Regions from separate parts of the Homo sapiens genome. Here regions 2 and 3 are each linked to region 1. The links are contacts of gene promoters, found by promoter capture Hi-C in human tissues and cell types (Jung and others, 2019). All regions are on one chromosome and are shown on one strand. The core of a region is centred on a gene start or on the middle of the fragment in contact, and the rest is flanking DNA. Distances in the headings are between cores, read along the strand shown.

What was found. The method cuts DNA at HindIII sites, captures the fragments that hold promoters and counts their contacts. A contact is called where the count stands out against the background at its distance.
Region 2: a fragment that was not itself captured here is called in contact with the fragment with the promoter of GAA in region 1 in 1 of the 25 tissues and cell types used here (spleen).
Region 3: a fragment that was not itself captured here is called in contact with the fragment with the promoter of GAA in region 1 in 2 of the 25 tissues and cell types used here (IMR-90 fibroblasts and lymphoblastoid cells).

The regions. Positions count from the first base shown.
Region 1 is chr17:80,100,118-80,102,830 of GRCh38, reverse strand. GAA (alpha glucosidase) reads right to left here and starts at 1,250. Exons shown (of 20, transcript NM_000152.5): 1 at 941-1,250. CCDC40 (coiled-coil domain 40 molecular ruler complex subunit) reads right to left here. Exons shown (of 20, transcript NM_017950.4): 20 at 2,218-2,713. RefSeq lists an enhancer at 644-753 and a silencer at 1,084-1,703. The HindIII fragment of the contact is 18,678 bases long and covers 1-2,713 here.
Region 2 is chr17:80,244,244-80,247,986 of GRCh38, reverse strand. SLC26A11 (solute carrier family 26 member 11) reads right to left here. Exons shown (of 18, transcript NM_001166347.2): 11 at 2,731-2,791; 12 at 1,778-1,833; 13 at 1,338-1,478. Among named protein-coding and RNA genes, the nearest start is that of RNF213, 15 kb to the left of the region's middle. The HindIII fragment of the contact is 7,646 bases long and covers 1-3,743 here.
Region 3 is chr17:80,335,566-80,339,065 of GRCh38, reverse strand. RNF213 (ring finger protein 213) reads right to left here. Exons shown (of 68, transcript NM_001256071.3): 23 at 2,688-2,905; 24 at 1,340-1,480; 25 at 1,069-1,233. Among named protein-coding and RNA genes, the nearest start is that of RNF213, 76 kb to the right of the region's middle. The HindIII fragment of the contact is 5,157 bases long and covers 1-3,500 here.

The DNA.
Region 1 (2,713 bases), core at 1-2,500:
AAATCCCAGGTTGTCACTTGTACTTTCGATCAACTAGTTATAAATTCAGAGGTTCCCAGGACTCCCTCTTCAGGGTCACAGAACTCAGGAAAGTGCGTTTCTTACAGTTGCTGGTTTATTACAAAGGATAAAACTCAGACAGCCGTATGGAAGAGATGCGTAGGGCCTGGTGTGAGGTGGGGGCAGTGATGCTGTGCTCTCTGCTCGCACCACCCTCCAGTGCCTTGGTGTGTTCCACAACCCGGCGGGAAGCCCTCTGATCCCTGTGGTTTCTTACGGGGTTCCATTGTGCAGGCATGGTTGACTAAGCCACTGGTGATTCACTCAATCTCCAGCCCCTCACCCCTTTTCCATCCCAACCCGTCATCAGGCCTTGGTCTTTCTGGCCATCTGCTTCCATCCTGAAGCCACCTGGTGTCCCCGGTCATCAGTCACCTCATGAGCAAAAGGCTCTCTCATCACTCGGTTTCCAAGGGTTTCGGGTGCTATGTGCCAGCAACCAGGGACAAAGACCAGAGACAGTCACCCCTGGCCTGGCCTAAGGGGGTCTTTGTGATTGAGACATTCAGATTTCAGAGCTGGCCCAGGGGCCCCCTCTCAGGCCACGGTGCTCCTCACCCCAGGGATTCAGACCCAGCCATGTGCGTCCTGCAGGAGCAGGAGAGGTGGCTCGGGTCCCGGCCAGGACTGAGCACTGCGTCGATCAAAAGGGGAAAGGAAACCCTAGAAACGGGAAGATGCAGCCTCCAGCCCCAAGCCCAGCACAGGAGGGCGGCTCCCCGTTCATCTCTAAGCTGAACTCAGATAAAGACCGGGAGGACTAGAGGTCTGGGGCTCAAGCTCCGCTCAGGGGAAGAGGCTGGGGGCACGGCTAGGCACGTTCAAACCCGCTTCTGGGATGTTACCGCCGGCAGCGCGGGGCAGACGTCAGGTGTCTCACCCGCTCCGTGCCTCAGTTTCCCCGTCAGCTGCGGCACGCGCAGAGCCTCCCTCGCTGAACAACGGGCGGACGAGGAGAACCTAGAGGTGGCCGGGGTCCTTCGCGTCACCGAGGTCACTGTCCTACCTGCTGCCTCATCCCCGACCTCCACCCGCGGCCCCGGCGACAACCTCAGCTTTCCCAACTGAGAGGCCGCGCGGGCAGCCGACCGCCCCACCGACCCGGCCCGCGCTCAGGGAAGCCCCGCAGCCCCGGCCCGGCTCACCTCCGCGCACGCGCGCCCTGGCCGCCCGCGGAGACTCCGGGGTCGTGCCCGGGGGCGCGCAGAGGCGGGTCACGTGACCGGCGGGAGCTCGTCGCGGGGCGGGGCCGCGGTGGGTCACGTGACGCGGCCTCCCGCGCAGGCGCCCGAGGCAAGGGTGCGCGTCCGCGCTACGCCCCCCAGTGGCGGCTCCGGCAGAGCGGGCCTGGGCGCGTCCTCGCTCTCGGAGGGGGCCTGGGGAGCGCGTCTGGCTGCGCGTCCGGCGTCCCGCGGGGAGAGGCCCACGCGTGCTGCCCGCTGCCGGTTCCTCTGGGGTCAGAGACGGGGCGAGGCCCCCGCTGGCGCAGTCCCGGCCCGGTCCCCGTGGGGTCGGAGATGGGGCGTGGCCCCCGCTGCCCCGGCCTGGGTCCCCGCAGCTCGTAGGGCTTTGTAAGGGGCTGGCCCAGCCGCGCCTTGCGCCCAGGGATTCCTCCTGCCAACGCGTCCCGAGGGCATCATCGGAAAGGCGGCCAAAGGCGCTCAGCGCCAAGTTAGAAACAGCCAACATTTGGAAAGTCCTTAAGTGTGCTCCATAACTCACAGTTATTCCAGAAAGGAATAATCAAAACATTGTGATAACCCATAAAACTGACAATTGAGAAAACATTAAACTGACACAGGGGGAATTTTTTCATAAAATGAGAAAATGCTTACATTAAGAGGAGCACATTTTTACATGTGAGATACAAAAAACACACAGTATAACCTTAACTTGCCTAATAAAATGTATGTGCAGAAAAATACAAAAGGAGCCACACCAAAACACAGAGGTGTTGTTCCTGGGTAGGGGCATAGGGGCATTAAAAGCCCCCTTTCCAGCTTGCAGCGAGCCGAGACCGCGCCACTGCACTCCAGCCTGGGCGACAGAGCGAGACTCCGTCTCAAAAAAAAAAAAACAAAAGCCTCCCTTCCACCTCTGTTGTGGTTTCTGTATTTCTACAATGTTTTAAAATAAGTAAGGCTGACTCAGAAAGGCTTACTAGATATTCAGAAAAAAGATTTTATTCTTCTGCTGAAATGTTTGAAAGTGAAATTATTTTGTAGAGCATTTTCCCTTTAAACTGCAAAGAAGCCCCAAGGTCATTGGTACTTGGAAGTCCAGGGAGAAAGAGCGCTGGGTTAATGATGGAGAAAAGATAGGTGGGCAGACTGGGGCGTAGTCCCTTGGTGTGGACGCCCCAGCGTGCTCTTATTTCAGTGCTCACCCTGTTACGTGTGTCTGGGGCCACTGACTTTCTCCTGCAAGCTGTGGATCTGAATTTAACTCAAATGGGGACATGGGGGCAGGAAAAGGGACCTGAGAGTTCTAAGGGGTGGGGATGGGAAAACTGGTAAAGAAGGTGGTTTGTGGGTTTTCAGATGCACCTAGTAGAGGGAAGTGCTGGGGGGACCAGCCTCCCGGGCCAGGCTGGCTGGAGCTGCCTTAACTTTCCCACCTCTGCTCAGCCCACCAGCTTGTGGACCTGTGGCAG
Region 2 (3,743 bases), core at 6-2,505, 150 kb before region 1:
CAGCAGCTGCTGACCAGGCCATGCTTCAAGTCGAAAGAAAGAAATGCCCTCCCCATCTGAGCTGAGCGCAGGTGAGACCTGCCGGCCGGTCCCTGGCCTCCAACCTCAGGGAGGGCAGCAGCAGGGGCTTGTCAGGGCACAGAGCTGGCCTGAGGAGTGGGGCAGGGACCACGTGAGCCCTTGAGACCTGGCCAAGGAGAAGGTGCCCTGGGGACAAAGTGCACGGGCTTAGCCCTGTGGGGGATTCCACCGCACGCATAGGTCAGGCCTGCCCCACCCTGGCTGAGCCTTGGTTTCTAGCAGCAGCGGCCATCCCATTCCACGCCGGCACATGAACACGTTTCAGGGCTGTTCTAAAGCCCCAGCGCACTGGCACGCGAAAGGCCCTGGCATGCGACGGGCATGCAAGAAAATTATCCATCCTTTCACCTGGCAACTTGCTGGGGCTAACCAGAAAATGCCAAGTAAGCTAGGTGAACCCACTCCATGCTTCTTCCACAAACAAAACAAAATGTGTTAAGTTAAAGGAACTGCTCCCGTCCGGGAGGTGAGGGGCGCCTCTGCCCGGCCGCCCCTACTGGGAAGTGAGGAGCCCCTCTGCCCGGCCACCACCCCGTCTGGGAGGTGTACCCAACAGCTCATTGAGAACGCGCCATGATGACAATGGCGGTTTTGTGGAATAGAAAGGGGGGAAAGGTGGGGAAAAGATTGAGAAATCGGATGGTTGCCGTGTCTGTGTAGAAAGAAGTAGACATGGGAGACTTTTCATTTTGTTCTGCACTAAGAAAAATTCCTCTGCCTTGGGATCCTGTTATCTGTGACCTTACCCCCAACCCCATATTGTCCTATGACCCTGCCAAATCCCCCTCTGCAAGAAACACCCAAGAATGATCAATAAAAAAAAATAAAAATAATAATAAAAAAAAAAAAAGGAACTGCCATTCTGAGCCAGGGTGCAAGGCTGTTCCGCTGGCCCTGCTGGTCACCAGGGACGTCTCCTGTCCCTCCCCCAGCTGGGCCGGGCAGAGTGGTGGCTGGAGGCGGGTGGCAAGGAGGGTAGGGATGGGGGCAGGGGGATCAGGAGGGGACCCTCCCCCGGGTCAGTGCTCGCCTCAAGACCCCAGGTGTCAGGACAAGGAGCTCCAGCTCTTCCCACTGAGCCTCGGGACCATCTCTGGGGCCATCTCCTGGCCATCCACTTCTCTGTTCCGGGACTGCCCTAACTTCCCAGTCCCAGCCCCACAGAGGGGGCTGCAGGAAAATGGGGTAGCATAAATGACACCCTCCGCGTTCAGACACCGCATCACAGCGCTCTCCCCTGTAGGACAAGGACGTACTCTTAACACGCCAGAGCGTCCTGAAGATCTTGGTGTCGAACAGCGGGGCCACGGCCATGATGATGACGGCAGCCAGGGCAGACTTGGGGATGTAGTAGAACAGTGAGGTCAGGTAGTCCAGAGACAGCAGCACCAGCACTCCTGCGGGGCACGGGAACACAGGTGACCTCGGGAGTGCAGGGTCCCCCCAGCACGCAGCGTAGCAGCCTCTTGTTCAGCAGAGCCCACTGGGGACAGGGGTGGGGGTAGGGCGACGACTGCCAAGGCCCCCAGCCCCTGCTCAGTCTCCTGTGGTCCCCCTACTCCTGTGTGGCCCCCCAAGTCCCTGTGCAGTCCCGGGGCGCACGGCCCATGAGCCAAAGGGACGTCTCTGTGGGCCCCCTCCTCCCTTTCTCCCACTCTCAGGGCTGCGGGCACAAGGGGAAGATGGGGGGCCTTACCCGTCACCAGGCCCCCCGCCGGGGTGCACACCCCCGACTGAGCGTTCACGGCTGTCCTGGAAGGCAACACAGAGACCGTCAGTCACCAGGGGCCGGGAAAAGGGAGACCTCAGTCCACACTCCTGTGGCTGATCTTCCGAGGGGACGTCAGCTCCCAGCACGGCTTGGGAAGCAGGCGGGGACTGCAAGGGGACCGAGGCAAAGAGACTTAGGGTGCAGTCACAGACAGCCGCGCTTGGGCCACCCTGACTATAGGAAGAAGCTCAGGAAGCACGTGTCCTTTCAGGTTCCTGCCGACTCTGTCTCCTGCCCCCATCCAGGTGGGGCCCCCATACCCAGCAGGGCAAGGGTCACCAGCTGGGGGACTGGGCAGTGCCAGGTGACGCCTCCTTCTCTCCTTTAAGCCACAGGTCACCTCCATCCTGTTGTCCTGACTGAGGAGGGGCCGTAGGGCATCTGGGCTAAGCTTCATGCCCGGCTGCTTCAGGACAGAGCCGAGGCCCTTCCTATCTCCACGTCCTTTCAGGAATTGACTCTGGCACCAGGAGCTAGGAGGGCTTTGGCGTGCTGGGAACTTTCTAGTATTTATTTTAGAGACAGGGTCTCGCTCTGTTGCCCAGGCTGGAGTGCAGCGGTGCGGTCACAACTCACTGCAGCCTCATCCTGCTGGGCTCAAGCGATTCTCCTGCTTCCGCCTCCAGAGTAAATGGGATAACAAGGGTGTACCACAATGCCCAGTGGAACTTTCTAGTATGAAACTGCAGGACGATCTATGAGAATAAAGAAACAGAGAACACCCTGGAGGACAGTGGGTGACCCCCAGCCCTGCCTCTCCACGGAGCGTTCACAGTGGAGGACGGGGCGCCGGGGTCAGGGCAGGCAGACTCCTTGTCAGCGTAACAACGTTAGGGCGTCCAACGTGGGCAAACAGAAGAGGCGGACAGGTCACTCACCGTCCAAAGCTGCCTGTGACCGGGTAGGAGGAGACGAGGGAGCCCAACATGTTGGTGAGACCTGGGGAGGAGGCAAGACAGGCTGATCGTGGAGGGAAGGCACACAGGATGGAGGGAAAGGAGATGGGGAGGGGGACAAAAACCCAGAAGGGAGGCAGGAAGGCAGGGCTCGGGAGAATCATCCTGGGGGCCTGGGCCTACGCACTCCTTCAGGGAAGGAAGAAAACAGGCCACATTCTTGCAGACGTAAAGCCTAGCCTTTTTTTTTTTTTTTTTTTTTTTGAGACAGAGTCTGGCTTTGTTGCCCAGGCTGGAATGCAGTGGCGCGATCTCAGCTCACTGCAGCCTCCGCCTCCCAGTTCAAGCGATTCTCCTGCCTCAGCCTCCTGAGTAGCTGGGATTACAGGCACACACTACCACGCCTGGCTAATTTCTGTATTTTTAGTACAGACAGAGTTTTGCCATGTTGGCCAGGCTGGTCTCAAACTCCTGACCTCAGTGATCCACCCGCTTCGACCTCCCAAAGTGCTGGGACTACAGGCATGTGCCACCACACCCAGTTAATTTTTCTATTTTTAGTAGAGACAGGGTTTTGCCATGCTGGCCAGGCTGGTCTCAAATGCCTGACCTCAGGTGACCCATCCGCCTCAGCCTCCCAAAGTGCTGGGATCACAGGAGTGAGCCACCATGCCTGGCAAGATCCTAGCTTTCAAACACTTCTCACCCAGCCTCTCCTGTGTGACCAGGACACGCCTTCCCCACGCAGAACAGAGGGGAGCATCTCACCACCCAGGAGGGGGTGAGAGCTGAGATAAAGTGCCCGTAAGACAAACCCTAGGTACTCGGGAGGTCAGTGGCTGCCCACCGTTCTCCACCCAGTTCCTTTCCGTCTCACGAGATGACAGCCACAGTGAGGCCAAGGTCATGGCCAGTATGCTGCCTCCCCAGGTGATGCCGGCTGCCTACAACAGACAAAGCCCACGCCCACAGCATTGCTGGGGCCCAAGAACGGG
Region 3 (3,500 bases), core at 416-2,915, 240 kb before region 1:
CCTCCCTCCTCATCTACACAACCCACCTGAGAAGATGGCACTCTCATCAGGGAAAGAGTCATTGTAGAGATAAATGGTATCATTTGTTTTAATTTTTTTTTTTTTTTAATTTTTTTTTGAGATGGAGTCTTGCATTGTTGCCCAGGCTGGAGTGCAGTGGTGTGATCTCGGCTCACTGCAACCTCTGCCTCCTGGGTTCAAGCAATTCTCCTGCCTCAGTCTCCGGAGCAGCTGGGATTACAGGCACGTGCCACCATGCCCGGCTAATTTTTGTAATTTTAGTAGAGATGGGGTTTCACCATATCGCCAGGCTGGTCTCAAACACCTGACCTCAAGTGATAGGCCCGCCTCGGCCTCCCAAAGTGTGAACCATGATGCCTGGACTGTTTTAATTTTTTTAAATTATCTTTTTTTTTTAATTGGGAAAAAAAAAAACCTTATACTTTTTGAGACAGGGTCTCGCTATGTTGCCCAGGCTGGTCATGAACTCCTGGGCTAAAATGAGCCTTCCACCTTGGGCTCCCAAAGTGCTGGCTTTACAGGTGTGAGCCACTGCACCCAGCAGAGATAAAGGATACCATTTGTAAAGTACAAATCAACTTTAGAGAAAGAACCTATAATAAAATTGAGAGACTATTACTTAGACCGGTACACCATTCTCAATATGATTACTTCTGTTTTGTCCATCTAAATCTTAGTTATTTGGATTCTTGCTGATTTACAGAGTGAGAGAGGCAATTCAAGTGTCTTTCTAAGGGCTATTTGCTGGGTGACCAACCTCCTTCTCAGTGCGGTGGACAGGCTGCCAGCTTCAGCGTTCATCCTACGGATCGTAAGGAGGGACTGCTAACCCAGGGGCCTGCCTGCCTTAAGACCTCTCTGGGGCCGCGGACTAGAGTTCCATGCACCCTACAAATGTGCCAACTCTACTCTCCATGGGCCTAAGAGCAGAGCCCTTCTTATCAGTCAAATCCCAAGTCAAATCCTTTCCGTTTTCTTGGGAGTACACAGCCCTCACGGACGAGATGACACCACCAGCTTAGCGCCACTGCAAAGATGCGCCCTCACCTCTGAAAACCTCTCCACTTCCGTGTTGTTACGATCCTTCTTGCCAGACATCAGCATCAACTTGTTCAAAAGCTCCTTCACCTCCTCTAAAGAGTACTCTCGTGACTCCTCGTGGCTGCCAGGGCTCTCAGGAAGGATCAAGTGCAGAACCGTGTCTGGGGAAATCTGTGAAGAGCATAGGTTAGAAGTCACTTTCTTGGGGCCAGAAGACCTGGACTGGCAGCAGCCTGCAGAAGGGCCGCAGCTGCGCCGAGGGCTGGGGACCGCTCACCTTTTGGCCACCTTTGGGCGCCTGGATCACATAGATGCCTCTTTGGTTGATGGCCGTGGCCAGGGTCAGGGATGAGCGTTCCACAGACCCATGACTCTCATTCACAGTCTTCAGCCATTCCAAGTTCCTGGCGGAGTCACACTATGGGGACAAAAGGAGAGAACACGGGCCACGGTTGGAGCGAGGATCTTGCCCTTCTCCCTCCTGTGGTCGGCCTCCCGCCTCTGCCTCGCTGCAGAGCCTTCTCCCCACGCTTCCCCAGGGCTCAGGACGCAGTCGCCCACCCAGCGCCCCAGCTGGACCAGGTGCCACCCTGACAACATGATCTGTCACTCAGTGCTGCTTTGTACTCGCTGTTCCACGTTTCCTCCAGTGCCTGGTGCCCCGGCTGGCACATGGGGGCACTTGACTTACATCTGTGGAGGAGTGGAGGGGAATGAGCAGCCGCCCGCCTGCCTCTCTACCAGACGCCATCATTCTGCCAGGTCCCCAATGCAGAGAACCCTCTGGGGGTGACGCTGGAAGCAATGGCTGTGGAGTCCCAAGTCCTCAGTGTCCTTCTGTGGTCCCCAAGTACAATAAGAGAAGTTTAGGAAAAATCACAACAGAGGGTTTTGTTTGGAAACTCTGCTGACTTTCTAGCAGAAAAATGAAGATAGCTTTACCTGCCCTTCCATATGTCACTTCTTCCTCCACCCACATGCAGAGCAGCCGTCCGGAGGCTGGCCCAGGTATCTAGTTAAGCTGCGTACGTCAATTCAGACCCTGCTACAGGTAGTTTACTTAAACTTAAATGTTTACTTTTTTCTTTTCTTTTCTTTTTTTTGAGACAGAGTCTCACTTTGTCACTCAGGCTGGAGTACAGTGGTGTGATCTCAGTTCACTGCTATCTCTGCCTCCCGGGTTCAAGCAATTCTGTCTCAGCCTCCAGAGTAGCTGGGATTACAGGCGCACACCACCATGCCTGGCTAATTTTAAATGTTTACTTTTTTCTGATAAAAAATTCTATCAATTATAGAAAATAACAAAAAGTAACAGAATAAAATGACAATTACAACCATTCAGAGAAAACTCCTGGCAACGTTTCAGCATATTTCCCTTCTGTCTTTTTTCCACGTGTGTTTTGCACCTTAGAGATTACTATGTGTCATGTAATTTTGTATCCTGCTTTCTAGGTAACAAGATGGTGAATTTCCATTTATGAAGAAAAGCTTTTTAAATATCATTGAAAACGGCTGTGTACAAACCTACCACACAGGTGTGCCACCATTTCCACAGTCACTGCCCTAACGTTGCTAAGCAATGCTCTATTCAACAAAATCTGCATTAGAGACAGAATAAGACTCACCAGTTTCCTGGGCAGGTACTGGTCCTTATCCAGAGCCTTCCACAGCTTTTTCAGATGCTTCATGAATGCACTGAAGTCCACGCTGGGGTCCAGCTTAAATAGCAGGGATGCGTAGCCCTGCACAGCGTCATGGAAGCAGGCCACCCGGTCCACATCAATGTCATTCTCCCCCGCTGAGATGGAGGCCAGGTCCACAAACACCTTCAGCTCATTGATGCCTGGGGAAGAGAAGAGGGGAGTTCAGCGTGGGACTATTCCACGATAGCACAAGACTCGGTCTTGGGCAGTAATCCTTACTGAAGCTGAAATGGATATTTCATGAATTTTTAAGGTTCTGTCCACTTTCTGCTTTCAGTAAGAGTCCGGAACACCTAATCTTTTGTAGTTTTTTTTTTTTTTTTTGAGACAGAGTCTCACTCTGTCACCCAAGCTGGAGTGAAGTGACATGATCTCGGCTCACTGCAACCTCCACCTTCCAGGTTTAAGTGATTCTCTTGCCTCAGCCTCCCGTGTAGCTGGGATTACTGGCGCCCACCACCACGCCTGGCTAATTTTTTGTATTTTTAGTAGAGACCAGGTTTCACCATGTTGGTCAGGCTGGTCTCCAACTCCTGACCTCAGGTGATCCACACGACTTGGCCTCCCAAAGTGCTGAGATTACAGGTGTGAGCCACCACGCCCAGCCTGTACTGTCTGTTAATAGCACTAAACGATATCTTGCCGTTCCTGAGCAATTTCAATGTCCCAGGCACTGTACTGCACTTCTGTGTATGCTCTTTCCTTCAATCCACACAACATTACCATTTAAACAAA